5 separate regions of the Homo sapiens genome follow, and all the other regions are linked to region 1. The links are contacts of gene promoters, found by promoter capture Hi-C in blood cells and fetal thymus (Javierre and others, 2016). All regions are on one chromosome and are shown on one strand. Each heading gives the region's core, a stretch centred on a gene start or on the middle of the fragment in contact. The rest is flanking DNA. Distances are from core to core; before and after follow the strand shown.

Region 1 (2,795 bases), core at 94-2,593:
TTCTTCATCGGGCTTGCAGTAGCTTCGAGGTTAGCCACAGGGGCTGCCGACTGAACAGCTGGATCTAGGAGGCGGGTCCAGAACAGGAGCCCGAGATCCTTGAAGCCCACTGGGAGGGAACCCGAAGCTGAAGGGAACACTGAGTGTTTCTGGGAACAGAACAGTCTCTTCCACATGAAGAAACGTGGCCCAGGAGAAGCCTCCGTCTGCATCTGGCTATTAGCTGCTCACACTGAAAATCAGGATGATTCACAGAAAATGCTCTTGATAAACTGGACGACCTGGCAACACTGGGACCGCAATCCTGTAGGGCAACAGTCGGTGCCCCGAAGAGCACAGGCACTGAGCCCGAGCCAGCCGGGCTCCTGCAGTGCTGGGCGCAGGCCCTGGAGCATGAGGGGCCCCGGACACCACCTGCGGAGGGAGTGGCCTGTGGGCCTCCCCTGGATCCCACAGGCCGCACGACTCCAAGGGTGCCTGTCCAGCTTCATCCTGTGTGATGGTGGCACCCGGGCCCACAAAGGGCCACCTTGGCGAGCTTGCAGGAACACCCTGTGCCGCTACCCACAGCCTTGGGTGCGCAGCTCTGAGAGCAGCCAGGAGCAGGAAAGGTGGGGGAGGAGAAGCTGGGGGAATGGGGGTGCGGCCAGCTCCAGGGACCTCTGATCTTGCTAAAAGGGCGATACTTTGGTGAGATGGGCACGAAGAAGAGGGCAAAAGAAAACGTGCGCTGGCGTCACCTGGCCCCTTAGAGGCACCTGGGGAAACTGAGGTGGAGGATGAGGACAGGGCGGTCTCGCCAACTTTCGGCGGTGAGATCCCGGGAAGCTGCACGGCCCCCGGGGCTCGCGGGCGCCGAATCCGGGCAGAAGCCGCCGCCGGTCTCCACTTGGCCGCCCCAAGCCGACCTGAGGAGAGCCCGCCGAGGGCGCATTCGCCTCCCGCCAGCCCCTCGCCTCCCCGCCCCGGCCCCTCCGCGCCCGGCTCCCGGGTCCTGGCCTCGCGCCCCCGCCCCGCCGCGCGCTGGCGTGCGTGTCCGCCGCGACGCGCCGAGGCCGGGCCGGAACCGGACCCGCCCGCCGCCCGCCGCCAGCCCCGCCGCCAGCCCAGCCGCGGCGCCCACAGGCCCGGCCGCCCGCGCGCCTCTCACCCGTAAGGCCGCCGCCCCTGCCGTGGCCCCGGCGTCGCTGCAGCACGAAGAAGGGGTTGGCCCGCTCCGTCACCCACAGCGCATTGGCCACCAGCACCTCCTCCGGGCTCAGCCACATCGCGGAGCCGCTCGCACCGGGCCGAGGCCCGCGAGACGGAAGCGCCCGCCGCCGTCGGCGTCCCGGAGCGGAGCGTGCGGAGCGGAGCGTGCGGAGCGGGCCGGGGCGGGGCGGGGCCGGGCGGGCGGCGCCCCCTGGCGGGCGTGTGGCGCTCCCGCACGCGGCCCGAGTTCCGCGCCGCCCCCTCAGCCCCGGCCTCGGGCGCGCGCCAGCCTGGCCTCCTGGAGCGGTGCAGCCCACGGCCTCCGGCCTGGGTCCAGAACGGAACGGCCCAGTCCGCAGACAGGGGAGCCGCTGTGCAGAGCAGGGCTTCTGGCGTTTTGAAAGCTGTGCAGTGTGAGAGAAGGATGTCAAGAAGCAGAGTTTGGCGGCTTTTGGCTGGTTGCGCGTGCAACCCGGGGCGTGTTAGCACTGCAAAGGGCGCCTGGAAAGGGTTTGCAGTTCCTCCTAATTCTCAGCTTTCTTTTCTTTTTTTTTTTTCGACAGAGTCTTGCTGTGTCGCCCAGGCTGGAGTGCAGTGGCGCAATCTCAGCTCACTGCAACCTCTGCCTCCCGGGTTCAAGTGATTCTCCTGCCCCAGCCTCTTTAGCTGGGATTACAGGCTCCCGCCAACACGCCCGGCTAATTTTTTTGTATTTTTAGTAGAGACGGGGTTTCACCATGTTGGCCAGGCTGGTCTCGAACTCCTGACCTCGGGTGATCCGCCTACATTGGCCTCCCAAGTCCTGGGATTACAGGAGTGAACCATCGCGCCCGGCCAGTTCTCAGAATTCTGACACTGGGGCCGGGAGACTAGAAGAATCTTCCAGCGCAGGGCAGGTGCCAGGAGGCCCTGATACGGGCTGCATCCTTGGAAATCAGTGCTGCCCCTCCCCTGACAGACGGGTCACAGAGGCTGGCCGGCCCTGGGGATGGGGTCTGGACTGGCCCTGGGCCCAGTGGCGGCTTCTGCGCAAGTGTGAGGCTGGCTGCAGGCGAATGCGGGTCCCTGGTCTCCCAGTGTTGGCCTGCAGGGGCAGCGCCAGTCCACACACAGCCTTCTGCATGAGGGGGCTGTCAACTCCACCTGGGACAACGGGCCTGGGGCCTGTCCGGGGTCGACTGGGATGTGGGGTCACCCTGCTGGCTGGAACCCTCACCAGGGTCTGGCTAGAGGGCAAAGGGAAGGGGGCAGTTAAACCATCCTTGGAGCTGGACCTGACTTCCAGGTGGGTTTCTGTGATTGGCACTCAAGAATCTTGGTGCGATGGATGTAGGTACATGCAGTTGACACCCAGAGTGATCTGCAGTCTTCTTCAATGTTGCTGGATATAGGAATCAGCTTTCAAGATGCAGAGGCGGGCTTTCTTCAACACCTTGGAAGTCTGAACTAATATTGTCATTGTGCTCTCTAGAGGGAAAGAATTTGGAAGAACTGCACTTTTTAACACCCTGAGAGGAGGTAAAGAGTCGTCTTGTTCCTTAATCCCAGTGGTTCTCAAATTGGGTATACATTAGGATCACCTGGAAGGCTGATTCAAACAGGCT
Region 2 (2,795 bases), core at 162-2,661, 240 kb before region 1:
GTGCCTGTAATCTCAGCTACTTGGGAGGCTGAGGCAGGAGAATCACTTGAATCTGGGAGGCGGAGGTTGCAGTGAGCTGAGATCACAGCACTGCACTTCAGCCTGGGTGACAGAGCGAGACTCTCTCAAAAACAAAACAAAATTTCTTTTTCTTTGATTTTCTTTTTGTAGAGATGGGAGTCTCATTATATTGCCCAGGCTGGTCTTGAACTTCTTGCTTCAAGCGATCTTCCTGCCTTAACCTCCCAAAGGGCTGGGATTACAGGCGTGAGCCACTGCACCTGGCCTAAAATATCTTTCTGTAATTCAATCTGTAGGTCAAACCTGCCACTCTAATGTAGTGGTAGAAACTGAATTTCAGTTAATTTGGAGGTTTTCCTGTCTTTCCCACAGGGGTATGGCACTGTCAGCGGAAGACTGTCAGATCTCTGCAGCATGACCCTCATCCTTGTTCCCAACCTTTTCTGTCAGTCACTGTCTGCCTCCCTTTCTTTGGTTGGCTGCCCATCAATGACCTATTATCATCATTGCCATAGATCCCTGAGAAGCACTCCCCCTCCCACAGTTGCCATTCCAATCTTGCTACACAGTATAAGAGCCCTCTTGGCTTCTGAGGGTTAAATGTTGCCATCCAGAATGGTTAAATGCCATTCCAGAATCGTGTCATCCCCAAGACACTAAGGAGCCAAGTTCCATGGCAGCATCTCCTAGCCACAGAGCACAGCCACCACCAGCTTTCTATGACACCAGTGCCCCCTCACGTCCACATTCTGCATTGCCTTAGTGAAGAGCGCCTCCTCTGGGCAGCTCCATGAAACACCTTCTGGTCTCATGTAATAAATCCGTTCTAACATTCCCACTTCCCTGAGCCTTCATCTCTACCTCATTAATGGTAGGCCACTATGGTGTCCAAGCTTCCGGGAGCCGTCTGGCGTGAAGACAAGCTCCAGCTGTCCTTTGACAGGACTTTAAATCCTGAGTCTTGGGGCATGCACCCTTGTCAATCAATGCCCCACCGGTCTTCTATTGCCCCCTCCCCGCCTGGATCTGGTACCCCACCTGGATCTGGTACCCTCATGATCGCTCCCGCAAGTGTTCTCCCAGGTCCTGCAACTTTTTGGGTGACTGAGTGATTTCCTCCTAGGGTAGGAAATATTTCACTGCTTGGGCTATGCTGAGATGTGATCCTGCTTGTTGGTCTGGAGGCAATGAGAGGAGGTGGATCTTGAGGAGGATTAGTGTTATCTTACAGGGTACTCACCTGTAACGGGGAGATCTCTGCACTGTCTCCAGGCTAGATGAAGCTGTCCTCCTCTGTCAATGGGAAGAAGGCAGTTTCTGCTGGCCAGGATGCTTCAGGGGACTCTGGGGGCTCAAGGTTCTTTGGTACATCCACCCAAACATCCCACGTCAGGCCTAGAGTCCCATTTATTCCTTTAAAAGCACCCAATGGGCCGGTTACTGTGGCTCATGTCTGTAATCCCAGAAGTTTGTGAGGCCATGGCAGGTGGATCAGTTGAGGCCAGGAGTTCGAAACCAGCCTGAGGAACATAGCAAGATCCCCGTCTCTACAAAAATAAAAATAATAGAAGCCCCCACTTTAGTACAGGAGACCTGCTGAGGATGCACAAGTGTCTTTTGCAGCTCTGCTGCTCTTGTGATGAAATATTGGTTCTCATTTTCAGCATGCTCTGCCTCCTGGCCACGGAAGCAAGGTTTTCTTTACATGTTGTCTTGGGAGAGTTCCTGCCTTTCACAGCATACTCTGAGTAGATAGCAGGCTGAACTGCATCTTTCATTCTCTTGCTTCAAAGCTGCTAAGGTGATTTAGAAAAGCTAGCCACCTCCATAATCCTTGCAACAGCAGCTGCTTCCACATCTTTCAAGTGACAAAGCTACTGCATAAGCCAAGCTTTCTCTTCAACTTCTATCTCCTTATCTACCACAGGTAAGAGTCTCATGCTTCAGGACACAAGGTTATCACCAACTGTGTGTGTGTGTGTGTGTGTGTCTTTGTTGCCTTCCGAATGGTAAGTGATCTACTTTTAGATTCCTATCGCTAGGTCTGTCTTCTAGTGCTACCTCTATTACTCATTGCCTTAGCTTGAATCCTCACAAAAACAGAGCTTGATCCTGGAACTTCGGCATAGTTAACTTGGGACATTCCAGGAAACTGTAATCCATGTAATTCCATGCCTATAATCCCAGCACTCTGGGGGCCAAGGTGGGTGAATCAGTTGAGGCCAGGAGTTTGAGACCAGCCTGGTCAACATGGGGAGAGAGATTGGGAAGAGTGACCCAGGGTACAGAACCATGAGCCACAGCTGCAGCTTCAGTCAGAGCAGGGCTGACCAGATATAACCAGAAGTCCCAACAGCATCCTGGACACCTCTCCTGCCTCCTAAGGGTGCAGAAATCTGTGACAATGGCTAAGCAGTATCTGCTCCTCTGGATTCAGGTGCCTATCTCTTGTGGAGCTTTGTTCATTCTAGAAGTACTTGGAGAGGTCCAAGCATCGTGCCTCACGCCTGTAATCCCAGCACTTTGGTGGCCAAGGTGGGCGGATCAGTTGAGGTCAGGAGTTTGAGACCAGCCCGGTCAACATGGCAAAACCCCACCTCTGCTAAAAACACAAAAATTAGCCAATCGTGGTCGTGCAGACCTGTAATCCTAGCTACTTGGGAGGCTGAGGTAGGAGAATCACTTGAACTCGGGAGGCAGAGGTTGCAGTAAGCCGAGATTGCGCCACTGCACTCCAGCTTGGGCAACAGAGTGAGACTACGTCTCAAAGAAAA
Region 3 (2,795 bases), core at 97-2,596, 200 kb before region 1:
AAACTGCTTTCTAAAACACCAGAACTCAACCTGGTATGTAATTCCCATTTCTGGAATGTGGCTGGACACCCACTATTACCTTGTAAGAATTTTGTAATTGGGCCGGGTGCAGTGGCTCACGCCTGTAATCCTAGCTCCCAGCACTTTGGGAAGCCAAGGCAGGCGGATCACGAGGTCAGGAGATTGAGACTATCTGGCTAACATGGTGAAACCCCATCTCTACTAAAAATACAAAAAATTAGCCAGGCGTGGTGGCAGGCGCCTGTAGTCCCAGCCACTTGGGAGGCTGAGGCAGGAGAATGGCATGAACCTGGGAGGCGGAACTTGCAGTGAGCCGAGATTGCGCCACTGCACTCCAGCCTGGGCGACAGAGCGAGACTCCATCTCAAAAAAAAAAAAAAGAGAATTTTGTAATAATTGTGAAAATAAAGGCTTCCTCCCCTGCTGTTTAACTCTTTTGATGAGTTGGGAAAATTGACTTTGACGCTAACGTGCTTTTTATTTGAAGTGTAAATTACAAAGTTGTTACCAACTGTTTTTATCTGAATTTCTGGTTTTGCTTCTGTGTAAGTTTTAGTTTTGGCAAGCTTATTTCTTTGTTTTATGAGGAAGCAATAACTGTCTAGATGTGTGCATTACTTTTTTTTAGACACTTAAACGTTATTTTAAATTTACTGATGATTGCTGGTTATTCCTTTTTACTAAACAAACTTGTAGTTAGCTTTTCCTTTAACTGTCACTAATATATTTGGAATTTTATAAGAGGAATTATCATACACTTTTGAAACGTTGCTTTTGAACACTTTGAGTACAGTGACTTCAAATAATCCTTTTTTGTTTTTGAAGGATCAGTTCCATGACAAGACCCCTTATACGATTATGTTTGGTCCAGATAAATGTGGAGAGGACTATAAACTGCACTTCATCTTCCGACACAAAAACCCCAAAACGGGTATCTATGAAGAAAAACATGCTAAGAGGCCAGATGCAGATCTGAAGACCTATTTTACTGATAAGAAAACACATCTTTACACACTAAGTAAGAAAAAGCATTAGTTTGGGGGCTTATGGTATTACATATATATCATCCATTTAATTTAAAGATTGTATATCTGGCCGGGCACTGTGGCTCACGCCTGTAATCCCAGCACTTTGGGAGGCCGAGATGGGCAGATCACCTGAGATCAGGAATTCGAGAACAGTCTGGCCAAAATGTTGAAACTTCACCTCTACTAAAAATACAAATATTAGCTAGGCATGGTGGTGCACGCCTGTAACCGAAGCTAGTTGGGAGGCTGAGGCAGGAGAATTGCTTGAACCTGGGAGGGAGCCAAGATCATTGTGCCACAGCATTCCAGCCTGGGCGAAAGTGAGACTCAATCTCAAAAAAAAAAAAAAAGGCTGGGCGCGGTGGCTCACACCTGTAATCCCAGCACTTTGGGAGGCCGAGGCGGGTGGATCACAAGGTCAGGAGATCGAGACCATCCTGGCTAACATGGTGAAACCCCGTCTCTACTAAAAATACAAAAATATTAGCCGGGCGTGGTGGTGGGCACCTGTAGTCGCAGCTACTTGGGAGGCTGAGGCAGGAGAATGGCACGAACCCGGGAGGCAGAGCTTGCAGTGAGCCGAGATCGCGCCACTGCACTCCAGCCTAGGAGACAGAGCAAGACTCCATCTCAAAAAAAAAAAAAAAAGATTGTATATCTGGAGAGTACCCCAGCCTCCAAACAAGAAGAATCTCAGCCTGGTATGGTTGCTCATGCGTGTAATCCCAGCACTTTGGGAGGCTGAGGCGGGCGGATCACTTGAGATCAGGCATTCGAGACTAGCATGGCCAACATGGTAAAACCCCGTCTCTACTAAAAATACAAAAATTAGCTGGGCGTGGTGTTGAGTAGCTGGTGTAATCCTAGCTACTCGGGAGGCTGAGGCAGCAGAATTACGTTAACCCAGGAGGCAGAGGTTGCAGTTGAGTCAAGATTGTATCACTGCACTCCAGCCTGGGTGGCAGAGGAAGATTCTGTACCCCCTCCACGAAAGAAAAGAATCTCTTCACTTTAGTATCTTAGTTGGGAAATGACCTTAATTTGTCAGCATTAAAAGAAGCTTCTTGGCCACGTATGGTGGCCCACACCTGTAATCCTAACACTTCGGGAGGCTGAATCGGATGGATTGCTTGAGTCCAGGAGTTCCAAACCAGCCTGACAACATAGTCAGACCCTGTCTCTACAAAATCTTAAGAATTAACTGAGTATAGTGGCATGTGCCTGTAGTTTCAGCTACTCAGGAGGCTGAGGTATGAGGATTGCTTGAGCCCAGGAAGTCGAGACTGTAGTGAGCCATGATCTTGCCACTGCACTGTAGCCTGGGTGACAAAGTGAGATGCTGTCTCAAAAAACAAAACAAAAAACCCAAAAAACTTCTTTTCCACAGGAACTGAGGTTCGAGATAATTTTAAGAATAGAATAGGTGTTTTTGGCCAGGCATGGTGGCTCGTGCCTATAATCCCAGCACTTTGGGTGGCCGAGGTGGGCGGATCACCTGAGGTCAGGAGTTTAAGACCAGCCTGGCCAACATGGTGAAGCCCCATCTCTACTAAAAATACAAAAATTAGCCGGGCATGGTGGAGGGTGCCTGTAATCCCAGCTACTCAGGAGGCTGAGGCAGGAGAATTGCTTGAACCCTGGAAGCGGAGGTTGCAGTGAGCCAGATTGTGACACTGCACTCCAGCCTGGGCGACAGGAAGACTCTGTCTCAAAAAAAAAAAAAAAAAAATTGGTATTTTTTGCTGG
Region 4 (2,795 bases), core at 192-2,691, 180 kb before region 1:
CTAAAGAAAAGTATGTACACAGAATGTAGTGCTCCTAGTTACTATTTTTTCTATTAAGAAATAGTTTAGTTCTGGTGTAAAATTTGTTTGAATGCTAAAAAAAAAAAAGCAGGACTGCATTATGGCACTTTTGCCTTGGTGGCCCACTTTCTCCATTTAAAACATTAGGATTTGTATTTTTCTGCTGCGTTTGTATGAAGACATATTTGATTGTTGTTTTCTCTTGATTTTAAAATAAAACCTCATGAGCCCTAGTAAAAAGCTAGAGTAACGAATGTTTGAACTACTGATGGTGTATCTCAATGTGCAGCCTCCTGCCACCTCCTGCTTAACCTTTTAGCAATTAGAGTGCCCATATCTAGAGTTCCTGATATCCTTTGGCATCACACTATCTAGTTTTAGTACTAACACTGTTTGATTGCTCCAGTCCCTCTACTCCCCTTTGCCTATTAGTTTTAATAATGGGGCATAATTTGTCTTGGTTTGGTTTTGTTGAGTAACTCAGTTTTACCTAAAGGACTGTTTTTGGTCCGGCGCGGCGGCTCACGCCTGTAATCGCGGTACTTTGGCAGGCCGAGGTGGGCGGATCACCTGAGGTCAGGAGTGGGAGACCAGCCTGACCGACATGGAGACACCCCGTCTCTACTAAAAATACAAAATTAGCCGCGCGTGGTGGCGCATGCCTGTAATCCCAGCTACTGGAGAGGCTGAGGCAGGAGAATCGCTTGAGCCTGGAAGGCGGTGGTTGTGGTGAAACGTCGTCCTTTGCATTTCCAGTTCCCTCTAATGGAGCTGCACTCTTGCATGCTTTTGCTCACATCTTCTGGACTTTTTTTTTAAGTAGTGAGTAATACTGCACTTTTGAAACTTGCTCGGGCTTTTACAAATAGGTGGAAACTACCAGTGATTCGGAATGTTGCAAGAGGAAACTACCAGCTCACTAGACGATTCTGACCAATTATGGGGCTGGATACAAGGAATAAGGTCAAAGTAAAACGGCTGACATTAAAATAGCGTGGCTACTTAGAGTTTATCAAAGTCGAAATTTAAAAAATAATTTAAAAAAAAGGTCTCTGTACTGCCAGGCGGGCGACAGGGACTGGCCAGCTGCGCCGCACTCGCCTGCCAGATTCCCCTTTTCTCGGGGTAGCCGGAAGGGCCTGCCTTCAGCGGGTGCTGTGCAGGAAACCAATAGCCGCCTCTTGGACGGGCTCCTGTCAGTCACGCTTAGCTCCGCCCCCAGGATTAAGGCCCGCCCAGGGGCTTCCCTCCGCCCTTCGCTTGAGAATTCCTTTTAAATACCGCTCTGGCGCCCGAGCGCGCCTCTTGCGTGCTCGTCCCCACGCCCTCGGGCGGCCGGTTCTTCCTTCTCTGATTGGCCAGGGCCCCTGCTCATCAGTCGTGATGCACAAGGTCTCTTACCGAGGCCCCGCCTTCTTCCGAGAGGCCCGAAAACAATTTTAAGATGGCGGCCGCGGCGGTAGCGCGGAAAACAATGGGGCCGGGGCGGTGGGGAGAGGCCGAGGCTTGAGGTAGGCAGCAAGCGCCGGCTGGGGGTCGGGCCGAGCGGGGCAGGAGGAAAACCCGCCGCCGCGCGCGAGCCCGCTCCGCTGCCCTCGGGGGCATGGCGCGGCCGTGAGGCGGAGAGGGGTAGCCGCGGGGAGCGAAGCCCGCAGTGCCAGCCGGCCCCGAGAGGCCCGGCCCCGGGCCCGGCCCGTGCAGCCCGCGGCCCATGGTGCTGCCCACCTGCCCCATGGCGGAGTTCGCGCTGCCGCGGCACAGCGCGGTCATGGAGCGCCTTCGCCGGCGCATCGAGCTGTGCCGGCGCCACCACAGCACCTGCGAGGCCCGCTACGAGGCCGTGTCGCCCGAGCGCCTGGAGCTGGAGCGCCAACACACCTTCGCCCTGCACCAGCGCTGCATCCAGGCCAAGGCCAAGCGCGCCGGGAAGCACAGGCAGCCGCCCGCCGCCACGGCCCCGGCGCCCGCCGCCCCGGCCCCGCGCCTGGACGCCGCTGACGGCCCCGAGCACGGCCGCCCGGCCACGGTGAGTAGGGCGCGGGAAGGCGCTTGTCGTGGCGGCAGCCCCCTCTCCCGAAAACGCTTCCTCTGACGCGGATCGGGCCGCTGGGAGACTTCCCCAGGCGTCCGCGACTCCTGGATCTGGCTGGAGAGAGGGTAACATGGCAGGGAGCTGAGAGGTTGTCATCTTTGGGAAGTGGCACGGTGGCGTTACTTTGGGAAAACAGCGCCTTGAGGGCCTTGCAGGAGGCCCGACCTGGGAAGGCTGGCGAACGCTAACCGGAGGGTTTTTCTTCCAGACTTGATTCCGGGATGTTGAGATCTTTATTCGAAATAGACTAGCATTCGAGTCGCCTGTGATGGAGGGAGTTCCTGCACCGTAGGCCTGGCCTCATTTATTCTGCAAATGTTTATTGGGTCCTTGCCCTTTACAAGATCCTGTGCTGTGAGCAGGATCAGGGCTTTCATGTGGAAATAAGTCGGCCTTTGGTTGACCAACTGAAACTCCTCTGAATGGAAAATCAAGAAATTTTTGGAAAACTTAGTAAAATGTTCAATGAGTTGCATATAAGTATTCCTTGTTTAGGTAGCCTGAACTTTGTGAACTTGAGATTCCTGCAATATTGTTGACAATTCTAGTTTTAATTTATCAGGCCTGTTTAAAATCTCTGATGATGTTAGATTGTTGGTCAATTATTACTCCCTTTGGGCTCTCAGTAAATGTTCCTGAAATTTGTTGGTTAGAGGTTTTTCTTCCTGAAACAGATTTACAA
Region 5 (2,795 bases), core at 94-2,593, 160 kb before region 1:
AAGGAGGCAGCTGGCACAGAGCCACAGTGCCTGCTGTATGGAGCCCTTTGTGCAGTAAGGAGCTGCTGCTGGGCCCAGGCGGCAGGTCCCGGGGGCTTCCCTTATCTTCAGTGCTGTCCTGAAAACTTAGTTGTTCAAGGCTACTTTTTTTTAAATCAGAATCTCGCTCTGTCACCAGGCTGGAGTGCAGTGGCACGATCTTGGCTCACTGCAACCTCTGCCTCCTGGGTTCAAGCGATTCTCCTGTCTCAGCCTCCCGAGTAGCTGGGACTACAGGCGCACACCACGATGCGTAGCTAATTTTTTATTTTTAGTAGAGACAGGGTTTCACCATATTGGTCAGGCTGGTCTCAAACTCCTGACCTCAGGTGATCCACCCGCCTCGGCCTCCTAAAGTGCTGGGATTACAGGCGTGAGCCACCGTGCCCAGCTGGCTACTTTCTATAGTTATACTGTCCATGAGGGTAGCCATCAGCCAGGTCAGGTTCTTAAGCACGTGGAATGCACCTTGTTAAACTTGACTTGTGCTAAAAGTGTAAAATGCACACTGGATTTTGATAATTTAGTACCACAGATTTTTTTGGTGCACTCACTTCAGTGGCTGTCACCTGTAATCCCAACACTTTGGGAGGCCAAGGCGGGCGGATCATGAGGTCAAGTTCGAGACCACCCTGGCCAGCATGGCGAAAGCCCGTCTCTACTAAAAATACAAAAATTAGCCGGGCATGGTGGCGCACACCTGTAATCCCAGCTACTCGGGAGGCTGAGGCAGGAGAATCACTTGAACCCGGGAGGCAGCGGGTGCAGTGAGCCAAGATCATGCCACTGCACTCCAGCCTGGGTGACAGAGCGAGACTCCATCTCAAAAAAAGAAAAAAATACCGATTATGGCCAGGCACAGTAGCTCATGCCTGTAATCCCAGCACTTGGGGAGGCTGAACTGGGCAGATCACTTGAGCCCAGGAGTTCAAGACCAGCCTGGGCAGCATGGCAAAACCCCATCTTTACAAAAAATTAGCCAGGCTTGGTGGTGTACACCTGTAGTTCCAGCTACTAGGGAGGCTGAGGTGAGAGGATCATCTGAGCCTGGGAGGTCAGGGCTGCAGTGAGCTGTGATTGCACCACTGCACTCCATCGTGGGCAATAGAGTGAGACCTTGTCTCAAAGAAAAAAAAATACTGATTACATGTTAAAAAGATAATATAGGCCCAGTGTGGTGGCTCACACCTGTAATCCCAGCACTTTGGGAGGCCGAGGTGGGTGGATCACGAGGTGAAGAGATCAAGACCATCCTGGCCAACATAGCGAAACCCCCTCTCTACTAAAAATACAGAAATTAGCTGGGTGTGGTGGCGCACGCCTGTAGTCCCAGCCACTCAAGAGGCTGAGGCAGGAGAATCGCTTGAACGCGGGAGGTGGAGGTTGCAGTGAGCCGAGATCGCACCACTGCACTCCAGCCTGGCAACAGAGCTAGACTCTGTCTCCAAAAAAAAAAAAAAAAAAAAAAAAAATATATATATATATATGGTTAAATAACATTATTAAAGATATTAAGATTTTTTCTCAAAAAATACTGATTATATGTTAAAAAGTTCATATATATTGGGTTAAATATGATATTAAAATTGGCACCATCTGTTTCTTTTTATGTGCTACTAGCAAATTTTGCCCACACTTGTGGCTGGCATATTTCTATTAGTGCTGTTGAGTAATGAGTACGTTTGTACTGTGTTGAGTTTAACACTTTATTAGATACTCTTTTTTTTTTTTTTTTTTTTTTTTTTGAGATGGAATCTCGCTCTGTCGCCCAGGCTGGAGTGCAGTGGCGTGATCTCAGCTCACTACAAGCTCCGCCTCCCGGGTTCACGCCATTCTCCTGCCTCAGCCTCTGGATATTACTCTTTATGTCCTCTTTCATCTGTGGAACTCATTTATTTTATTTTATTTTTTTGAGAAGGAGTCTCACTCAGCTGCCCAGGCTGGAGTGCAGTGGTGCAATCTCGGCTCACCGCAACCACCATCTTCCAGATTCAAGTGATTCTCCAGTCTCAGCCTCCTGAGTAGCTGGGATTACAGGCACCCGCCATCATGCCCAGCTAATTTTTGTATTTTAGTAGAGACAGGGTTTCACCATGTTGGCCAGGCTGGTCTTGAACTCCTGACCTCAGGTGATCCGCCCGTCTTGGCCTCCCAAAGTGCTGGGATTACAGGCGTGAACCACAGCACCTGGCCCATCTGTGGAACTCTTATCTCACTGTCACTTCACAATCATTGGAACAGGAAAGACTGTATTTATAATTACTGATTTCAGTTTGCTCACCTAAATCCTAGATGCTATTTTTTAGTGTGTGTGTGTGTGTGTGTGTGTGTGTGTGTGTGTGTGCGCGCGCGCGCGCGCGTGCTGGGGTGAAGGAGTCCTGAATTCACATTGTCTGTCTTTGGCCTCTGGCAATCTGCCTTCTGATTTCACTACTCAATTAAACCAGTCTATCTTGACATCTTTAATGCGTTTTTACTTTTATTACCCTCCGTGCTACGTTTGATAATATTTCAAATTTTTCTCCTTAAGATAGAATTGCTGCACTTAACTCCCAGATCCATTTGGACAAGTAGATTCAATTGTTTTATTTGTAAAGGGAATAAGGGTGTCCAGCTTGGTCAAAGGAGTTTGAGGAGTACATGCATGTTCTGGACTTACACACCGAGTGATTGATGCCTCGAAGAAAGCGAATGGCAAAGGATTAAGACAGTAGTGGATGAGATGAATCGGGGGGGAGAAGTGTTTCTGTTTGGGT

The links. Contacts are between HindIII fragments. The CHiCAGO score rates a contact against its expected background, and 5 or more counts as called.
Region 2: a contact is called between a fragment that was not itself captured here and the fragment with the promoter of TBC1D9B in region 1, in 1 of 17 cell types (neutrophils). The highest score is 6.2, in neutrophils.
Region 3: a fragment that was not itself captured here is called in contact with the fragment with the promoter of TBC1D9B in region 1 in 2 of 17 cell types (monocytes and total CD4 T cells); the score reaches 6.6 in monocytes.
Region 4: the fragment with the promoter of MAML1 here is called in contact with the fragment with the promoter of TBC1D9B in region 1 in 1 of 17 cell types (neutrophils); the score reaches 5.0 in neutrophils.
Region 5: a fragment that was not itself captured here is called in contact with the fragment with the promoter of TBC1D9B in region 1 in 4 of 17 cell types (total CD8 T cells, naive B cells, monocytes and 1 more); the score reaches 6.5 in total CD8 T cells.

The regions. Positions count from the first base shown.
Region 1 is chr5:179,906,554-179,909,348 of GRCh38, forward strand. It overlaps TBC1D9B (TBC1 domain family member 9B), which reads right to left and starts at 1,344. Exons shown (of 21, transcript NM_015043.4): 1 at 1,151-1,344. The coding sequence starts at 1,268. RefSeq lists an enhancer at 298-1,075 and silencers at 956-1,005, 1,056-1,195, 1,206-1,265, 1,336-1,495. The HindIII fragment of the contact is 10,003 bases long and covers 1-2,795 here.
Region 2 is chr5:179,667,824-179,670,618 of GRCh38, forward strand. The region is part of intron 2 of LOC105377763 (a long non-coding RNA gene); the gene reads left to right. Among named protein-coding and RNA genes, the nearest start is that of CBY3, 12 kb to the right of the region's middle. The HindIII fragment of the contact is 998 bases long and covers 913-1,910 here.
Region 3 is chr5:179,709,027-179,711,821 of GRCh38, forward strand. CANX (calnexin) reads left to right here. Exons shown (of 15, transcript NM_001746.4): 6 at 1-33; 7 at 847-1,039. Among named protein-coding and RNA genes, the nearest start is that of CANX, 11 kb to the left of the region's middle. The HindIII fragment of the contact is 1,522 bases long and covers 586-2,107 here.
Region 4 is chr5:179,731,381-179,734,175 of GRCh38, forward strand. It overlaps MAML1 (mastermind like transcriptional coactivator 1), which reads left to right and starts at 1,442. Exons shown (of 5, transcript NM_014757.5): 1 at 1,442-2,047. The coding sequence starts at 1,733. It overlaps CANX (calnexin), which reads left to right. Exons shown (of 15, transcript NM_001746.4): 15 at 1-261. RefSeq lists enhancers at 985-1,084, 1,846-2,346 and silencers at 1,535-1,734, 1,975-2,034. The HindIII fragment of the contact is 11,025 bases long and covers 1-2,795 here.
Region 5 is chr5:179,750,841-179,753,635 of GRCh38, forward strand. The region is part of intron 1 of MAML1 (mastermind like transcriptional coactivator 1); the gene reads left to right. Among named protein-coding and RNA genes, the nearest start is that of MAML1, 19 kb to the left of the region's middle. The HindIII fragment of the contact is 6,852 bases long and covers 1-2,795 here.